Regions from separate parts of the Homo sapiens genome. Here region 2 is linked to region 1. Evidence: promoter capture Hi-C in human tissues and cell types (Jung and others, 2019). All regions are on one chromosome and are shown on one strand. Each heading gives the region's core, a stretch centred on a gene start or on the middle of the fragment in contact. The rest is flanking DNA. Distances are from core to core; before and after follow the strand shown.

The links. Contacts are between HindIII fragments. The study calls those that stand out against the background at their distance.
Region 2: a contact is called between a fragment that was not itself captured here and the fragment with the promoter of SCML4 in region 1, in 1 of the 25 tissues and cell types used here (hippocampus).

Annotation. Positions count from the first base shown.
Region 1 is chr6:107,822,090-107,827,335 of GRCh38, forward strand. It overlaps SCML4 (Scm polycomb group protein like 4), which reads right to left and starts at 2,224. Exons shown (of 8, transcript NM_198081.5): 1 at 2,037-2,224. RefSeq lists an enhancer at 307-376. The HindIII fragment of the contact is 11,941 bases long and covers 1-5,246 here.
Region 2 is chr6:109,461,057-109,466,787 of GRCh38, forward strand. ZBTB24 (zinc finger and BTB domain containing 24) reads right to left here. Exons shown (of 7, transcript NM_014797.3): 7 at 1,538-5,518. The coding sequence ends at 4,795. It also overlaps a transcript of MICAL1 not described here. Among named protein-coding and RNA genes, the nearest start is that of MICAL1, 8.2 kb to the left of the region's middle. The HindIII fragment of the contact is 4,283 bases long and covers 1-3,649 here.

The sequences.
Region 1 (5,246 bases), core at 974-3,473:
AACAGCAGAGATGATTTTCTCATCATTTCAAATTTTAAAAATTAAAAAAGTCTATCTTTGTACTTTGGGGTAGTGCTTGAATTTTTTAATAGGAAAGTGTTACTGAGTATTTTTTTAAAGTCAATATTGTTTTGAACTCTCATTATAAAAGTTCTTGCAGCAAGTGACAGTATTTGGGTCTGGCTTGTTTTCTGTGGGCTGAGCTGCTTAGCTTACCTGCTGCTTGCTAGAGGAGACAGCCTTTCACCCTCACCCCCAGGAGTCAAGAACCAGAAAGTGAAACTGCTTCTGCTGATTTCCCTCGCCTCGAAAACACACCACCAAAAGCAAAGAAATGATGAAAAGCAACTTACTCGTTTCGCTTATTGTTTTCTTGTCTTTCTATTACCGTTCATTTACTCTTTTCTTTTTTTCTTTTCTTTTTTTTTTTTTGCAGCAAAATAAAAGTAATTTTGGGGACACAGGGAAGAAATGTAAACATGTTATACATGAAAGAACTGGATTTTTGTGGGCTTTGCACTTTTGTTATAATTCCACAAATGAAGCAAACTGATGAATTTACCAAAATATTTCAGAGCTCATCTACGTACACAATTTAAAGAGCTAAAGAAAACACATTCATATTTTTTAAAAATTCTGTCAAAAAGCCTGTTTAAAAGTTATAGTTTGTGAAGCCACCAATTTCCCTAAAACTGAAGATTCTACATTAACCTTTTGAGTTTAGACGATCACGCAGTACCGATTTTCTAGGTAATCTTCACCCAGCTGCTGTTGCTCAAACAGCCCCTCATTTTATCAGACTAGTTCTACCAAGCAACACAAAAAATGCTCCACACAAATATTATACCCCCCAGATAGTTTAACACACTAAGAATTCCTTTGTAGTTATTTTTATGCTTTCACTCCAGATATTCTATTTTGCTTTAAAAAAAAAAAAGTGGAGAAAAAAAGCAGCTATATCCCTCATTCTTCAAAAATGGTTCCTCTGGTTGAAAAGAAAGAAAAACAGCATATAACAAATACCCTGATTCTGAAGTGCCTGGATTACTTTCTCAAGTACTGTAGTGTCTGAGATCAGTAAAAAACCACTTTCTCAGAAAGCCACTGATTGTCTAACCCTCATGAGTACCGTCATGGAATCTAGAGACAACACGAGGAGACACCTCTCGTTCACGATCACAGATAGTGGAAAGAACTTTGACTCAAGCACCTCAACTCAGCAAAACAGCTCAGCAGCCTGCACCCTGGCCTCATCCACCGCTCCTGTCCAGCCAGCAATCAACCTGGAGAGGACCCCTCATGCTTTGGGAGGAGCACGTGGAAGCTGGTTCAAGTCACAGTGCTCCACCTGGGAAGGAGGTGATTTTGAGCTTGGGAAAACTGCCGCTAATACTCCATAGTCACCAGTTTTTTTCCCAAAAAACGAATTAAAACCAGAAACTAGCAGTAAATATTATTCTTATTTATGCCTCATAAATTAGGAAAAACCAGCACAAAGACATGTGAAATATTCTACCTGGGATATTTGAAATAAAATTAAATGGGAAAAAAAACACTTTTACATGTTCATAACATACCAATTTTAATAACCAAATTTTAGGTAAATATTTTTATCCCAAGACATAGTACAATTTTTTTAAAATTAAAAAGCAAAACAAAGCAAAATTATCGTGAAGGGAAAAAATAACTAACCGGTTACTTGAGTTCACATTTGGAAAAAAATAACTTTCTAGGTATTTAAATGCAGAGTTAAAGAGTAATGAACATGTATATAGCCCAAATTTATAAACTATATAATTCAATGTTACATTTTCCCCTCTGAGATCTGGTTAATAAATTAAATGCTGTACTTTGCATATGAGGAACTAAAGTTTACCTACTGGACTCAGTGGTTTTAGTGCAGGACACTCTTGTGCGTTGCCATAGAGGTAGGCATGCAACCCAGAAAAAACTGAAACAGGTAACCTGTCATGCTGACAGTTACAAGAGAAAGATCCCGTGTCAACGGCACGCCTCCAATTGTGCATCTCCCTTACCTACAGCTTGTTCACCAGAGCCCTGAGCAGGTTGTTTACCAGGTCGGGAGTGTTGACTCAGAAGACAGATGACTTTCAGCACATGCAAACCGAGTATTGCAAAAGCTATCTTCCACCCGTGTTAGTAGCTCACAGTTAGTCTCCAGCAGCCCTGCGCTCCAGCTGCAAACATCTCATTAGACTAATGCATTCAGCACAGGCAGAAAACTCGATTTACCATAGCTACAGCAATGAATTTCCATTACGATGACAGCTTCAACCACATCATGTCCGGAAAACCAGCCAACCACTGGCTTTTAAAGAACACACACATTTTACATGCAGAAAACGAGGCCTCTGTGTGTGTGTGTGTGTGTGTGTGTGTGTGTGTGTGTGTGTGTGTGTGTGTGTGTTTTGTGTTTCCTTCCTCTTAGCAGCCTAAGAGAAATGTGCAGTGTAGCTTTTTGTCGACATGAGCTGCAAGGTAATGACACTTCTGCTTCTTTGGTAGTTACATCCTTGTAATAACCTGAATTATGTCACAATGGTTAGAATGGGTGTTTCCAACATTTCAGTTTTCATTACCCCTCCTCTGTTGCCATAGAAACCAGACTGTAACATCGTCTCTTTGTCCCAATCCTGCAGCAGTGTGGGCCAACACCAGGCTTATAAGACACTGGTGATCTGACAGAGTGAATGTTTGACTTTGGACAAATAAAACAAAAAGAAATATTACAATAGCATCATTGTTCAGGAGACCCTGTGTGATTCCCAGAGCAGTGTGCCTATCCAGGTGTGTGCACACACCATGGTTGTACATATTAAATCAGCGGCTGCCCACAACATATGTGTACAGTTCATTAAAGCCGGCCCTGACTTTGGCTCCAGGCCTGTATGTGTGTGTGTGTAAGCATCTCTACCCACCTCAACGTGGTGGGACCTGCACAGGATAGAAACAGGGCAAGAGTGACTATTCATTCCCATGCCCCATTGCATTTTCTGCAGCAAATCAATATATATCGGCGAAGGGATCTTTTCTTTTCCTTTCTTTTTGTAAAGTGGAGCAGGGCTCCCCATTGCCCATTTCATCCACTCTGGGATATTGGCATATTCACAGGTATTTCCTACAAGATGAAACATCCATTCTACAAACATGTGGCTTACTCCTAGGGATGAGCAGCAAACAAATTTAGCCGGGACTAAATATCAACCAGGGCTAACGAAGGCTTAGGCCACAACCTGGCCAGTTACTGAGAGTGAAAAAAACTGCAATGGACAACTTGAGGTTTCTCTAAATATATGTGTAGAGTCACATTAGAAGTACATAAGAAATCTCTCCTCTGAAATTTATTATGAAAATATAAAAAATTGTTTTAAGTCAAAGCCTTGTAATTAATTGAGCAAGAAGAAATTCACTACTTTAGTTCATTTAATCATCAAATTTTGTTGTTTTGTATGGGAAAAGGCAGGTTTGGTAGTTTGCATTTTCATTTCATATAAGTTGATTTCACTAAAGAAGGAGGAAGAGGAGAAGAAAAGAAAATAAGATGGATGGGCCAGGTGCAGTGGCTCATGCCTGTAATCCCAGCACTTTGGGAGGCCAAGGCGGGTGGATCACGAGGTCAGGAGATCGAGACCATCCTGTGAATGGTGAAACCCCGTCTCTACTAAAAATACAAAAAATTAGCTGGGCGTGGTGGCGGGCGCCTGTAGTCCCAGCTACTTGGGAGGCTGAGGAGGGAGAATGGCGTGAACCCGGGAGGCGGAGCTCACAGTGAGCCGATACCGTGCCACTGCACTCCAGCCTGGGTGACAGAGCGAGACTCCATCTCAAAAAAAAAAAAAAAAAAAAGAAAATAAGATGGATGGGCTAGGTGTGGTGGCTCATGCCTGTAATCCCAGCATTTTGGGACTCCTGGACTTGAGGTTAGGAGTTCGAGACCAGACTGGCCAACATGGTGAAACCCCATCTCTACTAAAAATACAAAAATTAGCCAGGCTTGGTGGCGCTTGCCTGTAATCCCAGCTACTCGGGAGGCTGAGGCAGGAGAATCGCTTGAACCTGGGAGGGAGAGGTTGCAGTGAGCTGAGATCACGCCATTGCACTCCAGCTTGGGTGACAAGAGTGAAATTCCATCTCAAAAAAAAAGAAAAAAGAAAGAAAAAGAAAAGAAGAAAAGAAAAGAAAAGAAAGAAAAGAAAAAGAAGAAAAGAAAAGGAAAGAAAAGGAAAGAAGATGGATGATTTAAGTTTGGACAGCATCTCTGTCCCAGCGACAGCGGTTATTATACTCACACCCGTGGCCTCACACATGCCACACTACACTGAGCTTAAAGCACCTGGAATGGGCTGAGACATTAGACCAATTTTCACTCTAAAATGTTTCTTAGGATTAAAAAAAATAACATTTCTTAAGTAATCAGAAATAATCTCCAAGTCCTGTAAAAGAAGTAAAAGGGTTGGCAGAATCTACCCATAAGAAAGGAGTTGCTGGTTTTCCTACCCAGCTCTGTGAGGGTTTCTCACTCTGATCCTCAGGCCCAACCTCCTTGCCTCCTCCCAGATGGGCTACTGTTGTCCTTGTCCTCAAGGTGGGTGCATGTGGGAAGCACCCATTGTCATCTAACAGGTCAACTTGGTAATAAAGCCTAAAATTGAAATCAACAAAAGCTGGATTGCTTGGGCGCGGTGGCTCACGCCTGTAATCCCAGCACTTTGGGAGGCTGAGGTGGGCAGATCACAAGGTCAGGAGATCGAGACCATCCTGGCTAACACGGTGAAACCCCGTCTCTACTAAAAATACAAAAAATTAGCTGGGAGTGGTGGCAGGCGCCTGTAGTCCCAGCTACTTGGGAGGCTGAGGCAGGAGAATGGTGTGAACCCGGGAGGCGGAGCTTGCAGTGAGCCGAGATCACGCCACTGCACTACAGCCTGGGCGACAGAGCGAGACTCCGTCTCAAAAAATATATATATTTTTTATATATATGTATATATTTAAGTAAACAATATTTATTTACTTAAATATGTTATTCAAAATATTTGATATTTAATAAATTATTCATTAAATTATGTAATTTAATAAATTTAATAAATATGTAAATATATTTATTTAAATATATCTTTATATTTTTATTTAAATATATTTACATTTTTATTTAAATATATATTTACATTTTTATTTAAATATATATTTGTTTTTTACTTAAATGTATATTTTTATTTAAATATATC
Region 2 (5,731 bases), core at 258-2,757, 1.6 Mb after region 1:
CAACTTGTCATTTACATTAGGTATTTCTCATAATCCTATCCCTCCCCCAGCCCCCCACCCTATGACAGGCCCTGGTATGTGATGTTCCCTGCCTTGTGTCCAAGTGTTCTCATTGTTCAATTCCCATCTATGAGTGAGAACATGTGGTGTTTGGTTTTCTGTTCCTGTGTTAGTTTGCTGAGAATGATGATTTCCAGTTTCATCCATGTCCCTGCAAAGGACATGAACTCATCCATCCTTTTTTATGGCTGCATAGTATTCCATGGTGTATATGTGCCACATTTTCTTACCAATTAAGCTTTAAATCAATAGTAGTGAAACACTAACATGATTATATGGTAGTTACTGAATTTCTGTAGACCGTAACTTTCACTACTATTGTTTTATGTAAAAAAGTTATAATTGTATGCAGGTGGCACATGCTTGTAATCCCAGCACTTTAGGAGGCCAAGGTGGGAGGACTGCTTGAGGCCAGGAGTTTGAGGCCAGCCTGGGCAATATAGTGAGACCCTGTCTCCACTTAAAAAAAGAAAAAAGTATGCTATAATTCCAGACATAGACCCTCAATTTTAGTCAAAAACTTCTATTACATTAAGCAGGTCACATTCTTTAATTAGTAAGTTCTTATTAAATATGTAATTTTTAATAAGAACTTAATAAGTGGGAAATAAATTATGTATTTAATAATAAATAAGAAATTACTTATTTAATAAGAAAATTGTCCTTTTCTTTTGGTTCTATTAACCTTGGGAATAAGAAATCCAGCTTAAAGTTTTAAAAGCCTGTGCCCTAGTTCTGGTTCTACCACTTACTGTATGACATTTGGCAACAGACTTTCTCTTTGGGCTCCATGTTCTCATCTGTCCAATAAGCATAATAATTACTCACCTCACCAGAATGTCATGAAGATTAAGATGAGACATGCTTCCAGTGGTTAAGGTGTGTCCCAGACACTGCTCCCCTCCTCACTCAGATGCCAGTTGTTAGGAGGTAAATTGTGTCCCCCTACTCCAAATTCACATGTTGATGTCCTAATACCCAGCATCTCAGAATGGGATTGTATTTGAAAAGATGATTAAATGAGGACATTAATGTGGGCTGATCCCATACAACTGGTGTTCTTAAAAGAGAGTAAGACAGAGGGAAGGACATGTGAAGATACAGGCAGGGGAAGACAACTAGAAGGGAGGCCTCAGAAGAAACCAACCCCACTGACACGTTGATCTTGGACTTTCTATTTTTTCAGTCACCCAGTCTGTGGTATTTGTTATGGTAGTCATGGCAAACTAATATACCAGTCATGAACAGAGGGGACTGGAGTCCTCCAACCAGAGGGTGCTATATTGTAAATCTGTGTGCCATGACATGGAAGATGTTTGAGACCCAGTAAGATATGATACAGATTTAACAGACCTGGCTTGGCTCCTGGACAATAGTAAGGACTCCATATTTGGAAGATATTGTTACATTCCCATTTATGAAAACCTAGATAAGCATCTATAATGAGAATCCTAGGTAAGCATTTATAATGAGAATCTTTTTTCATTCCTCAGCATCATTTAATCTGTTGCTCACAACATTTATAACACAAGAACCAACTGTAGAAAATACAGAGTAGAGGTGAGTTTCAAGAAGCACTGGGCAAGCACTTGAATAACTGATTTTGATGGTAAGAGCTCCAATCATCCCAAGGCAGACCCTCTTCTGGGAGAAAACCAAAGATTCACCTTCAAAACGAGGTGTTTCAGGAGCCCCAAAGCATAACATTCTATTTCCTAAGAAACACACTCTATATTTCTGTTAAAACAATTTAAAAAATGGTACACATTTAGTAGAAAATGAATTGTGAAACACTGCACTAGCAACATCATTTCTCAAGGACACATGAGAAGTACTTTCATGTTCACGACATTTCTTTTGGGTACTCAAGTCATTTAACTTTTTTTTTTGAGACGGAGTCTCGCTCTGTCGCCAGGCTTGAGTGCAATGGCGTGATCTCAGCTCACTGCAGCCTCCGCCTCCTGGGTTCAAGTGATTCTCCTGTCTCAGCCTCCCGAGTAGCTGGGATTACAGGGGTACACCACCACGCCCAGCTAATTTTTGTATTTTTAGTAGAGATGGGGTTTCACTATGTTGGTCAGGCTGCCCTCGAACTCCTGACCTCGTGATCCGCCCACCTTGGCCTCCCAAAGTGCTGGGATTACAGGCATGAGCCTCCACGCCCGGCGTCATTGAACTTTTTTATTCAAAGGGGTAGAATGTATATGTGGGACAAAGAAAGAGGCTAGATTAACAAAGCTATCATTTCCTTGTTTCTCTTTGACAGCTGGTCAAATAATTCAGGCATAGCTAGGACTGATGCTCAAGTTAGAAACAGGTGGCCCATGCTGTCCAATATAGCAGCCACTAGCCACATGTGCTTATCAAGCATTTGCACTGTGTCCCATGCAACAAGGAACTGGATTTTAATTTTAATAAATTTAATATAAATTTTTAAACTGATACTTATTTCAATTCTTGAAAAAAACTTTTGTCTTAGCTACTTGATATGAGAATCTGTTTTCAACTGTAAGTTGTATGAAATCTAAATACAGATCAAGTATGTCCAATGAACATTAGCATCCAAATGGAGATGTGCAGAAAGTGTAAAATACACACCAGATTTCGAAAGCTTAGTATGAAAAAGAGAATGTAAAATGTCTCACTAATATATTTTTATATGTTGAAATATTTGGCAAATGTTGGATTAAATAAACTTTTATTAACATTTTCACCTGCTTCTTTTTATGTTTTTAAAAGTTGCTACTAGAACATTTAAAGTGACCTATGTTGTTCATGTTATAGTTCTCTTAGTGTAGAGGTAGACTGTTATAGAGCCAGTGAAACTTGACTTATAAATAGCTATGTAACCGTATTTTCTGAATAATCACCTAGCTATCCAGAGTGAGTAAACACTCACTTACTTAAATATTTAATTTCCTGGAGAAAATGTGGATTGGTGGGCTTTGAAAAGTTGGTAAAAACTTTGTGTTTTAAGAATAAAATTAAACAGTTTAAACGAGAACCTGAAATAATACTTAGGGCTTAACAGTGTTTGTAAAAAATTGTTATCTTTGCTCTAGTCAGGCCTGATTTAACATTAGTTTGGTTGATACATATAAGATATATATCATTTTGGAAGTTTTGTGAATTACATATAATAAAATATAGCTTAGCAAATATGCAACCAAAATGTTTTTATCTTCTCTCAAACCTGAAGAATTCTCTATTACTCTAACCTCCAAATAACTTATTTGATTTAGGGAGAAATCAAGGATGTCTAAAACAAAACAATTGATGGAAAGGCTCTATTAATTTTAGAGTAGATTACCCCCTACTCCCCATCAGCATTGTTAATTTAGATATACTAGTGCCCACCTTCTTTTCTCAAAAATCCCCTACCAGCTTACATGAAAGTGGTAAAAGAATTCAATAAGCTTAGCTTGAAAACCTAACCCAAACATAATTTAATCTTTTGATGATGATTTAAAAATCATACAATTACAGACACATGCTGGCTACAAAGTCTCTGAGGCTCAAAGTTTTAAGATTAGATGAAGATTAGCTGGGTGTGGTGGTACATCCCTGTAGTCCCAGCTACTAGGGAGGCTAAGGTGGGAGGGTTGCTTGAGCCCAGGAATTCGAGGTTACAGTGAGCAATGATTGTGCCACTACACTCTGGCCTGGGTGATACAGTGAGACCCTGTCTCTAAAAAAGGAAAGATTAGGAGAAGATATTCACTTTGTGGGATTTAACTAGTCTGCAATAAAAATGAATTATAAGCTTCCATCTCCAGAAAGTTATCAGACACAACACGTAGATCAACATTTTCAGGAGATCAGTTAGAATTCAGTAGAGTATATATAAGACTTAAATTACACTGAATAAAGTTTTATGTTCCAGAATAGTGAAGAAAGCTTTACCTTCATGAAAATCAAATCTCTTTTCTGACAAAAATTCAGAATTTAGGGTGAATGTCTTGATCCAATTTTGTATTTTAAACTTAATTAAAATTTTGATAGCCTTCTGTTGAAAAATATGTAAATTTATGTTTCTCAGAAAAGACGAATTCAGAATTTTAAGAAATCCTATGCTTTTGGCTATCTTGTTACATGAATTTTGAGTTAAAATACTGAGTTTATGAGTTTGAATCTTTCTGAAGTGTTAACACAATAAGCCCACTGTACTGCATAAAGATAAAACGTTGAGGGTTACTTTGTCTTAGGGGACTGGAAATTATTAAAAGGGCAAATTCCCCATACATTGTGATCTGTCATATTTAGCCCTGACTTGTCTTGTGGTAACAACTGTGTTGCCTAAGAAAAATAAGAAAATAGAACAAACCATTCTGCCCAGTTCAACCAAAATGACTCCCTTTGTCCTAGAAAACAAAAAAACATAACTGGGGAGGTTGGCAAGACCATAACCTATGGCTGTGAACATTTAAACCTTACAGAAAAACTGAGATCAATGCCCCCAAAGAAAAACTACCCGAGTCTTTATGAGACATTGCAGATTAAAATGAAAACCATTCAATAATATTGAAATGCTCAATACAAATCAGTACCTTAGACAAGACATACACACATCTTGCTACCTGGATGGAGGGCATTATAAACATCAGTTAGCCATCACAGCTCTCACAGAAGCATCTGCAAGTCAATGGTGTGGAGAGCCTGATTTCAAGCGTTCAAAATCCAGTCAGAGCTGGCTTATAAGAAGAGCCCAATCAAGCAGTCAAACGTGTTTACAGGTCAGCTCTGCTCCTGGCCAAGTGGCGTTGGCTGGGGCACGTGGTGAGTGGGTGGTGGCGGACCAGGCTCCTGTGTCAGCTGCAGGTGCTGAGCTGGATCTGAAGTACTTGTAGCTAAATGGAGCTCCTCTGTTTGCTCTTGATGGGCATGAAGATGTTCCAGTGTTTCCTTGGACAGAGTGATCACGTGCACTGGCTCTGTTTGTGAGGGCCCCATCTGGCTTTCAATCATATTGAGGCTCTGAATGTGTTCTGTTTGCTCCTGTTGAGCTGAAAGAATTAAATTCTGCAGTTGCTCTGGCTGCTGCGTGAGCAGGGTAAGATTAGCAGCCTGGTCTGCAGTCATGTTTTGGGAACTCTCTGCAGTCACAATGCTGATTCCCTGGCTAGGACCGGGCATGAAATTGATGTTATGTACAGAATCGGTTACGAGAAGCTGAATTTCCTGCTCTCCCGAGGTAGAGAGTTGATATGGCTGTAGCTGAAGAATATTCCTGACCTCTTCTGTATTACTACTGCCAGAAATGCTGCTGGCATCTGAAGCATGCTTCTCCTTGCTATGAATTTTCAAGTGAGCCTTCAAGTTGTCTAAGCGAGCAAACTGTAAGTTACACTCAGGGCAGGAGAAAGGCTTCTTGCCAGTGTGTAGAATGCAGTGTCTCCTTTTGGCACTGGAGTCAGAGAAGGATTTGCCACAAATGCCACAGGAGTATGGCTTTTCTCCTCTGTAAGAAAATAAACATTTTATTTTTAAAATGGAAATACCTACTTACTACTTCCTGATTATTTAGGGGGAAGCAATCAAGAGTAGTGGAAAATTAACTAGACTGCAAGTCATAAGTCATGGGTTCACCTACTAATTCAAGGACTTGAAGCAAGTCTCGCTTCCATGGGCAGTTTTTAATCTGAAAATAGGGTGTGGGTGGTGCCTGAGGAAG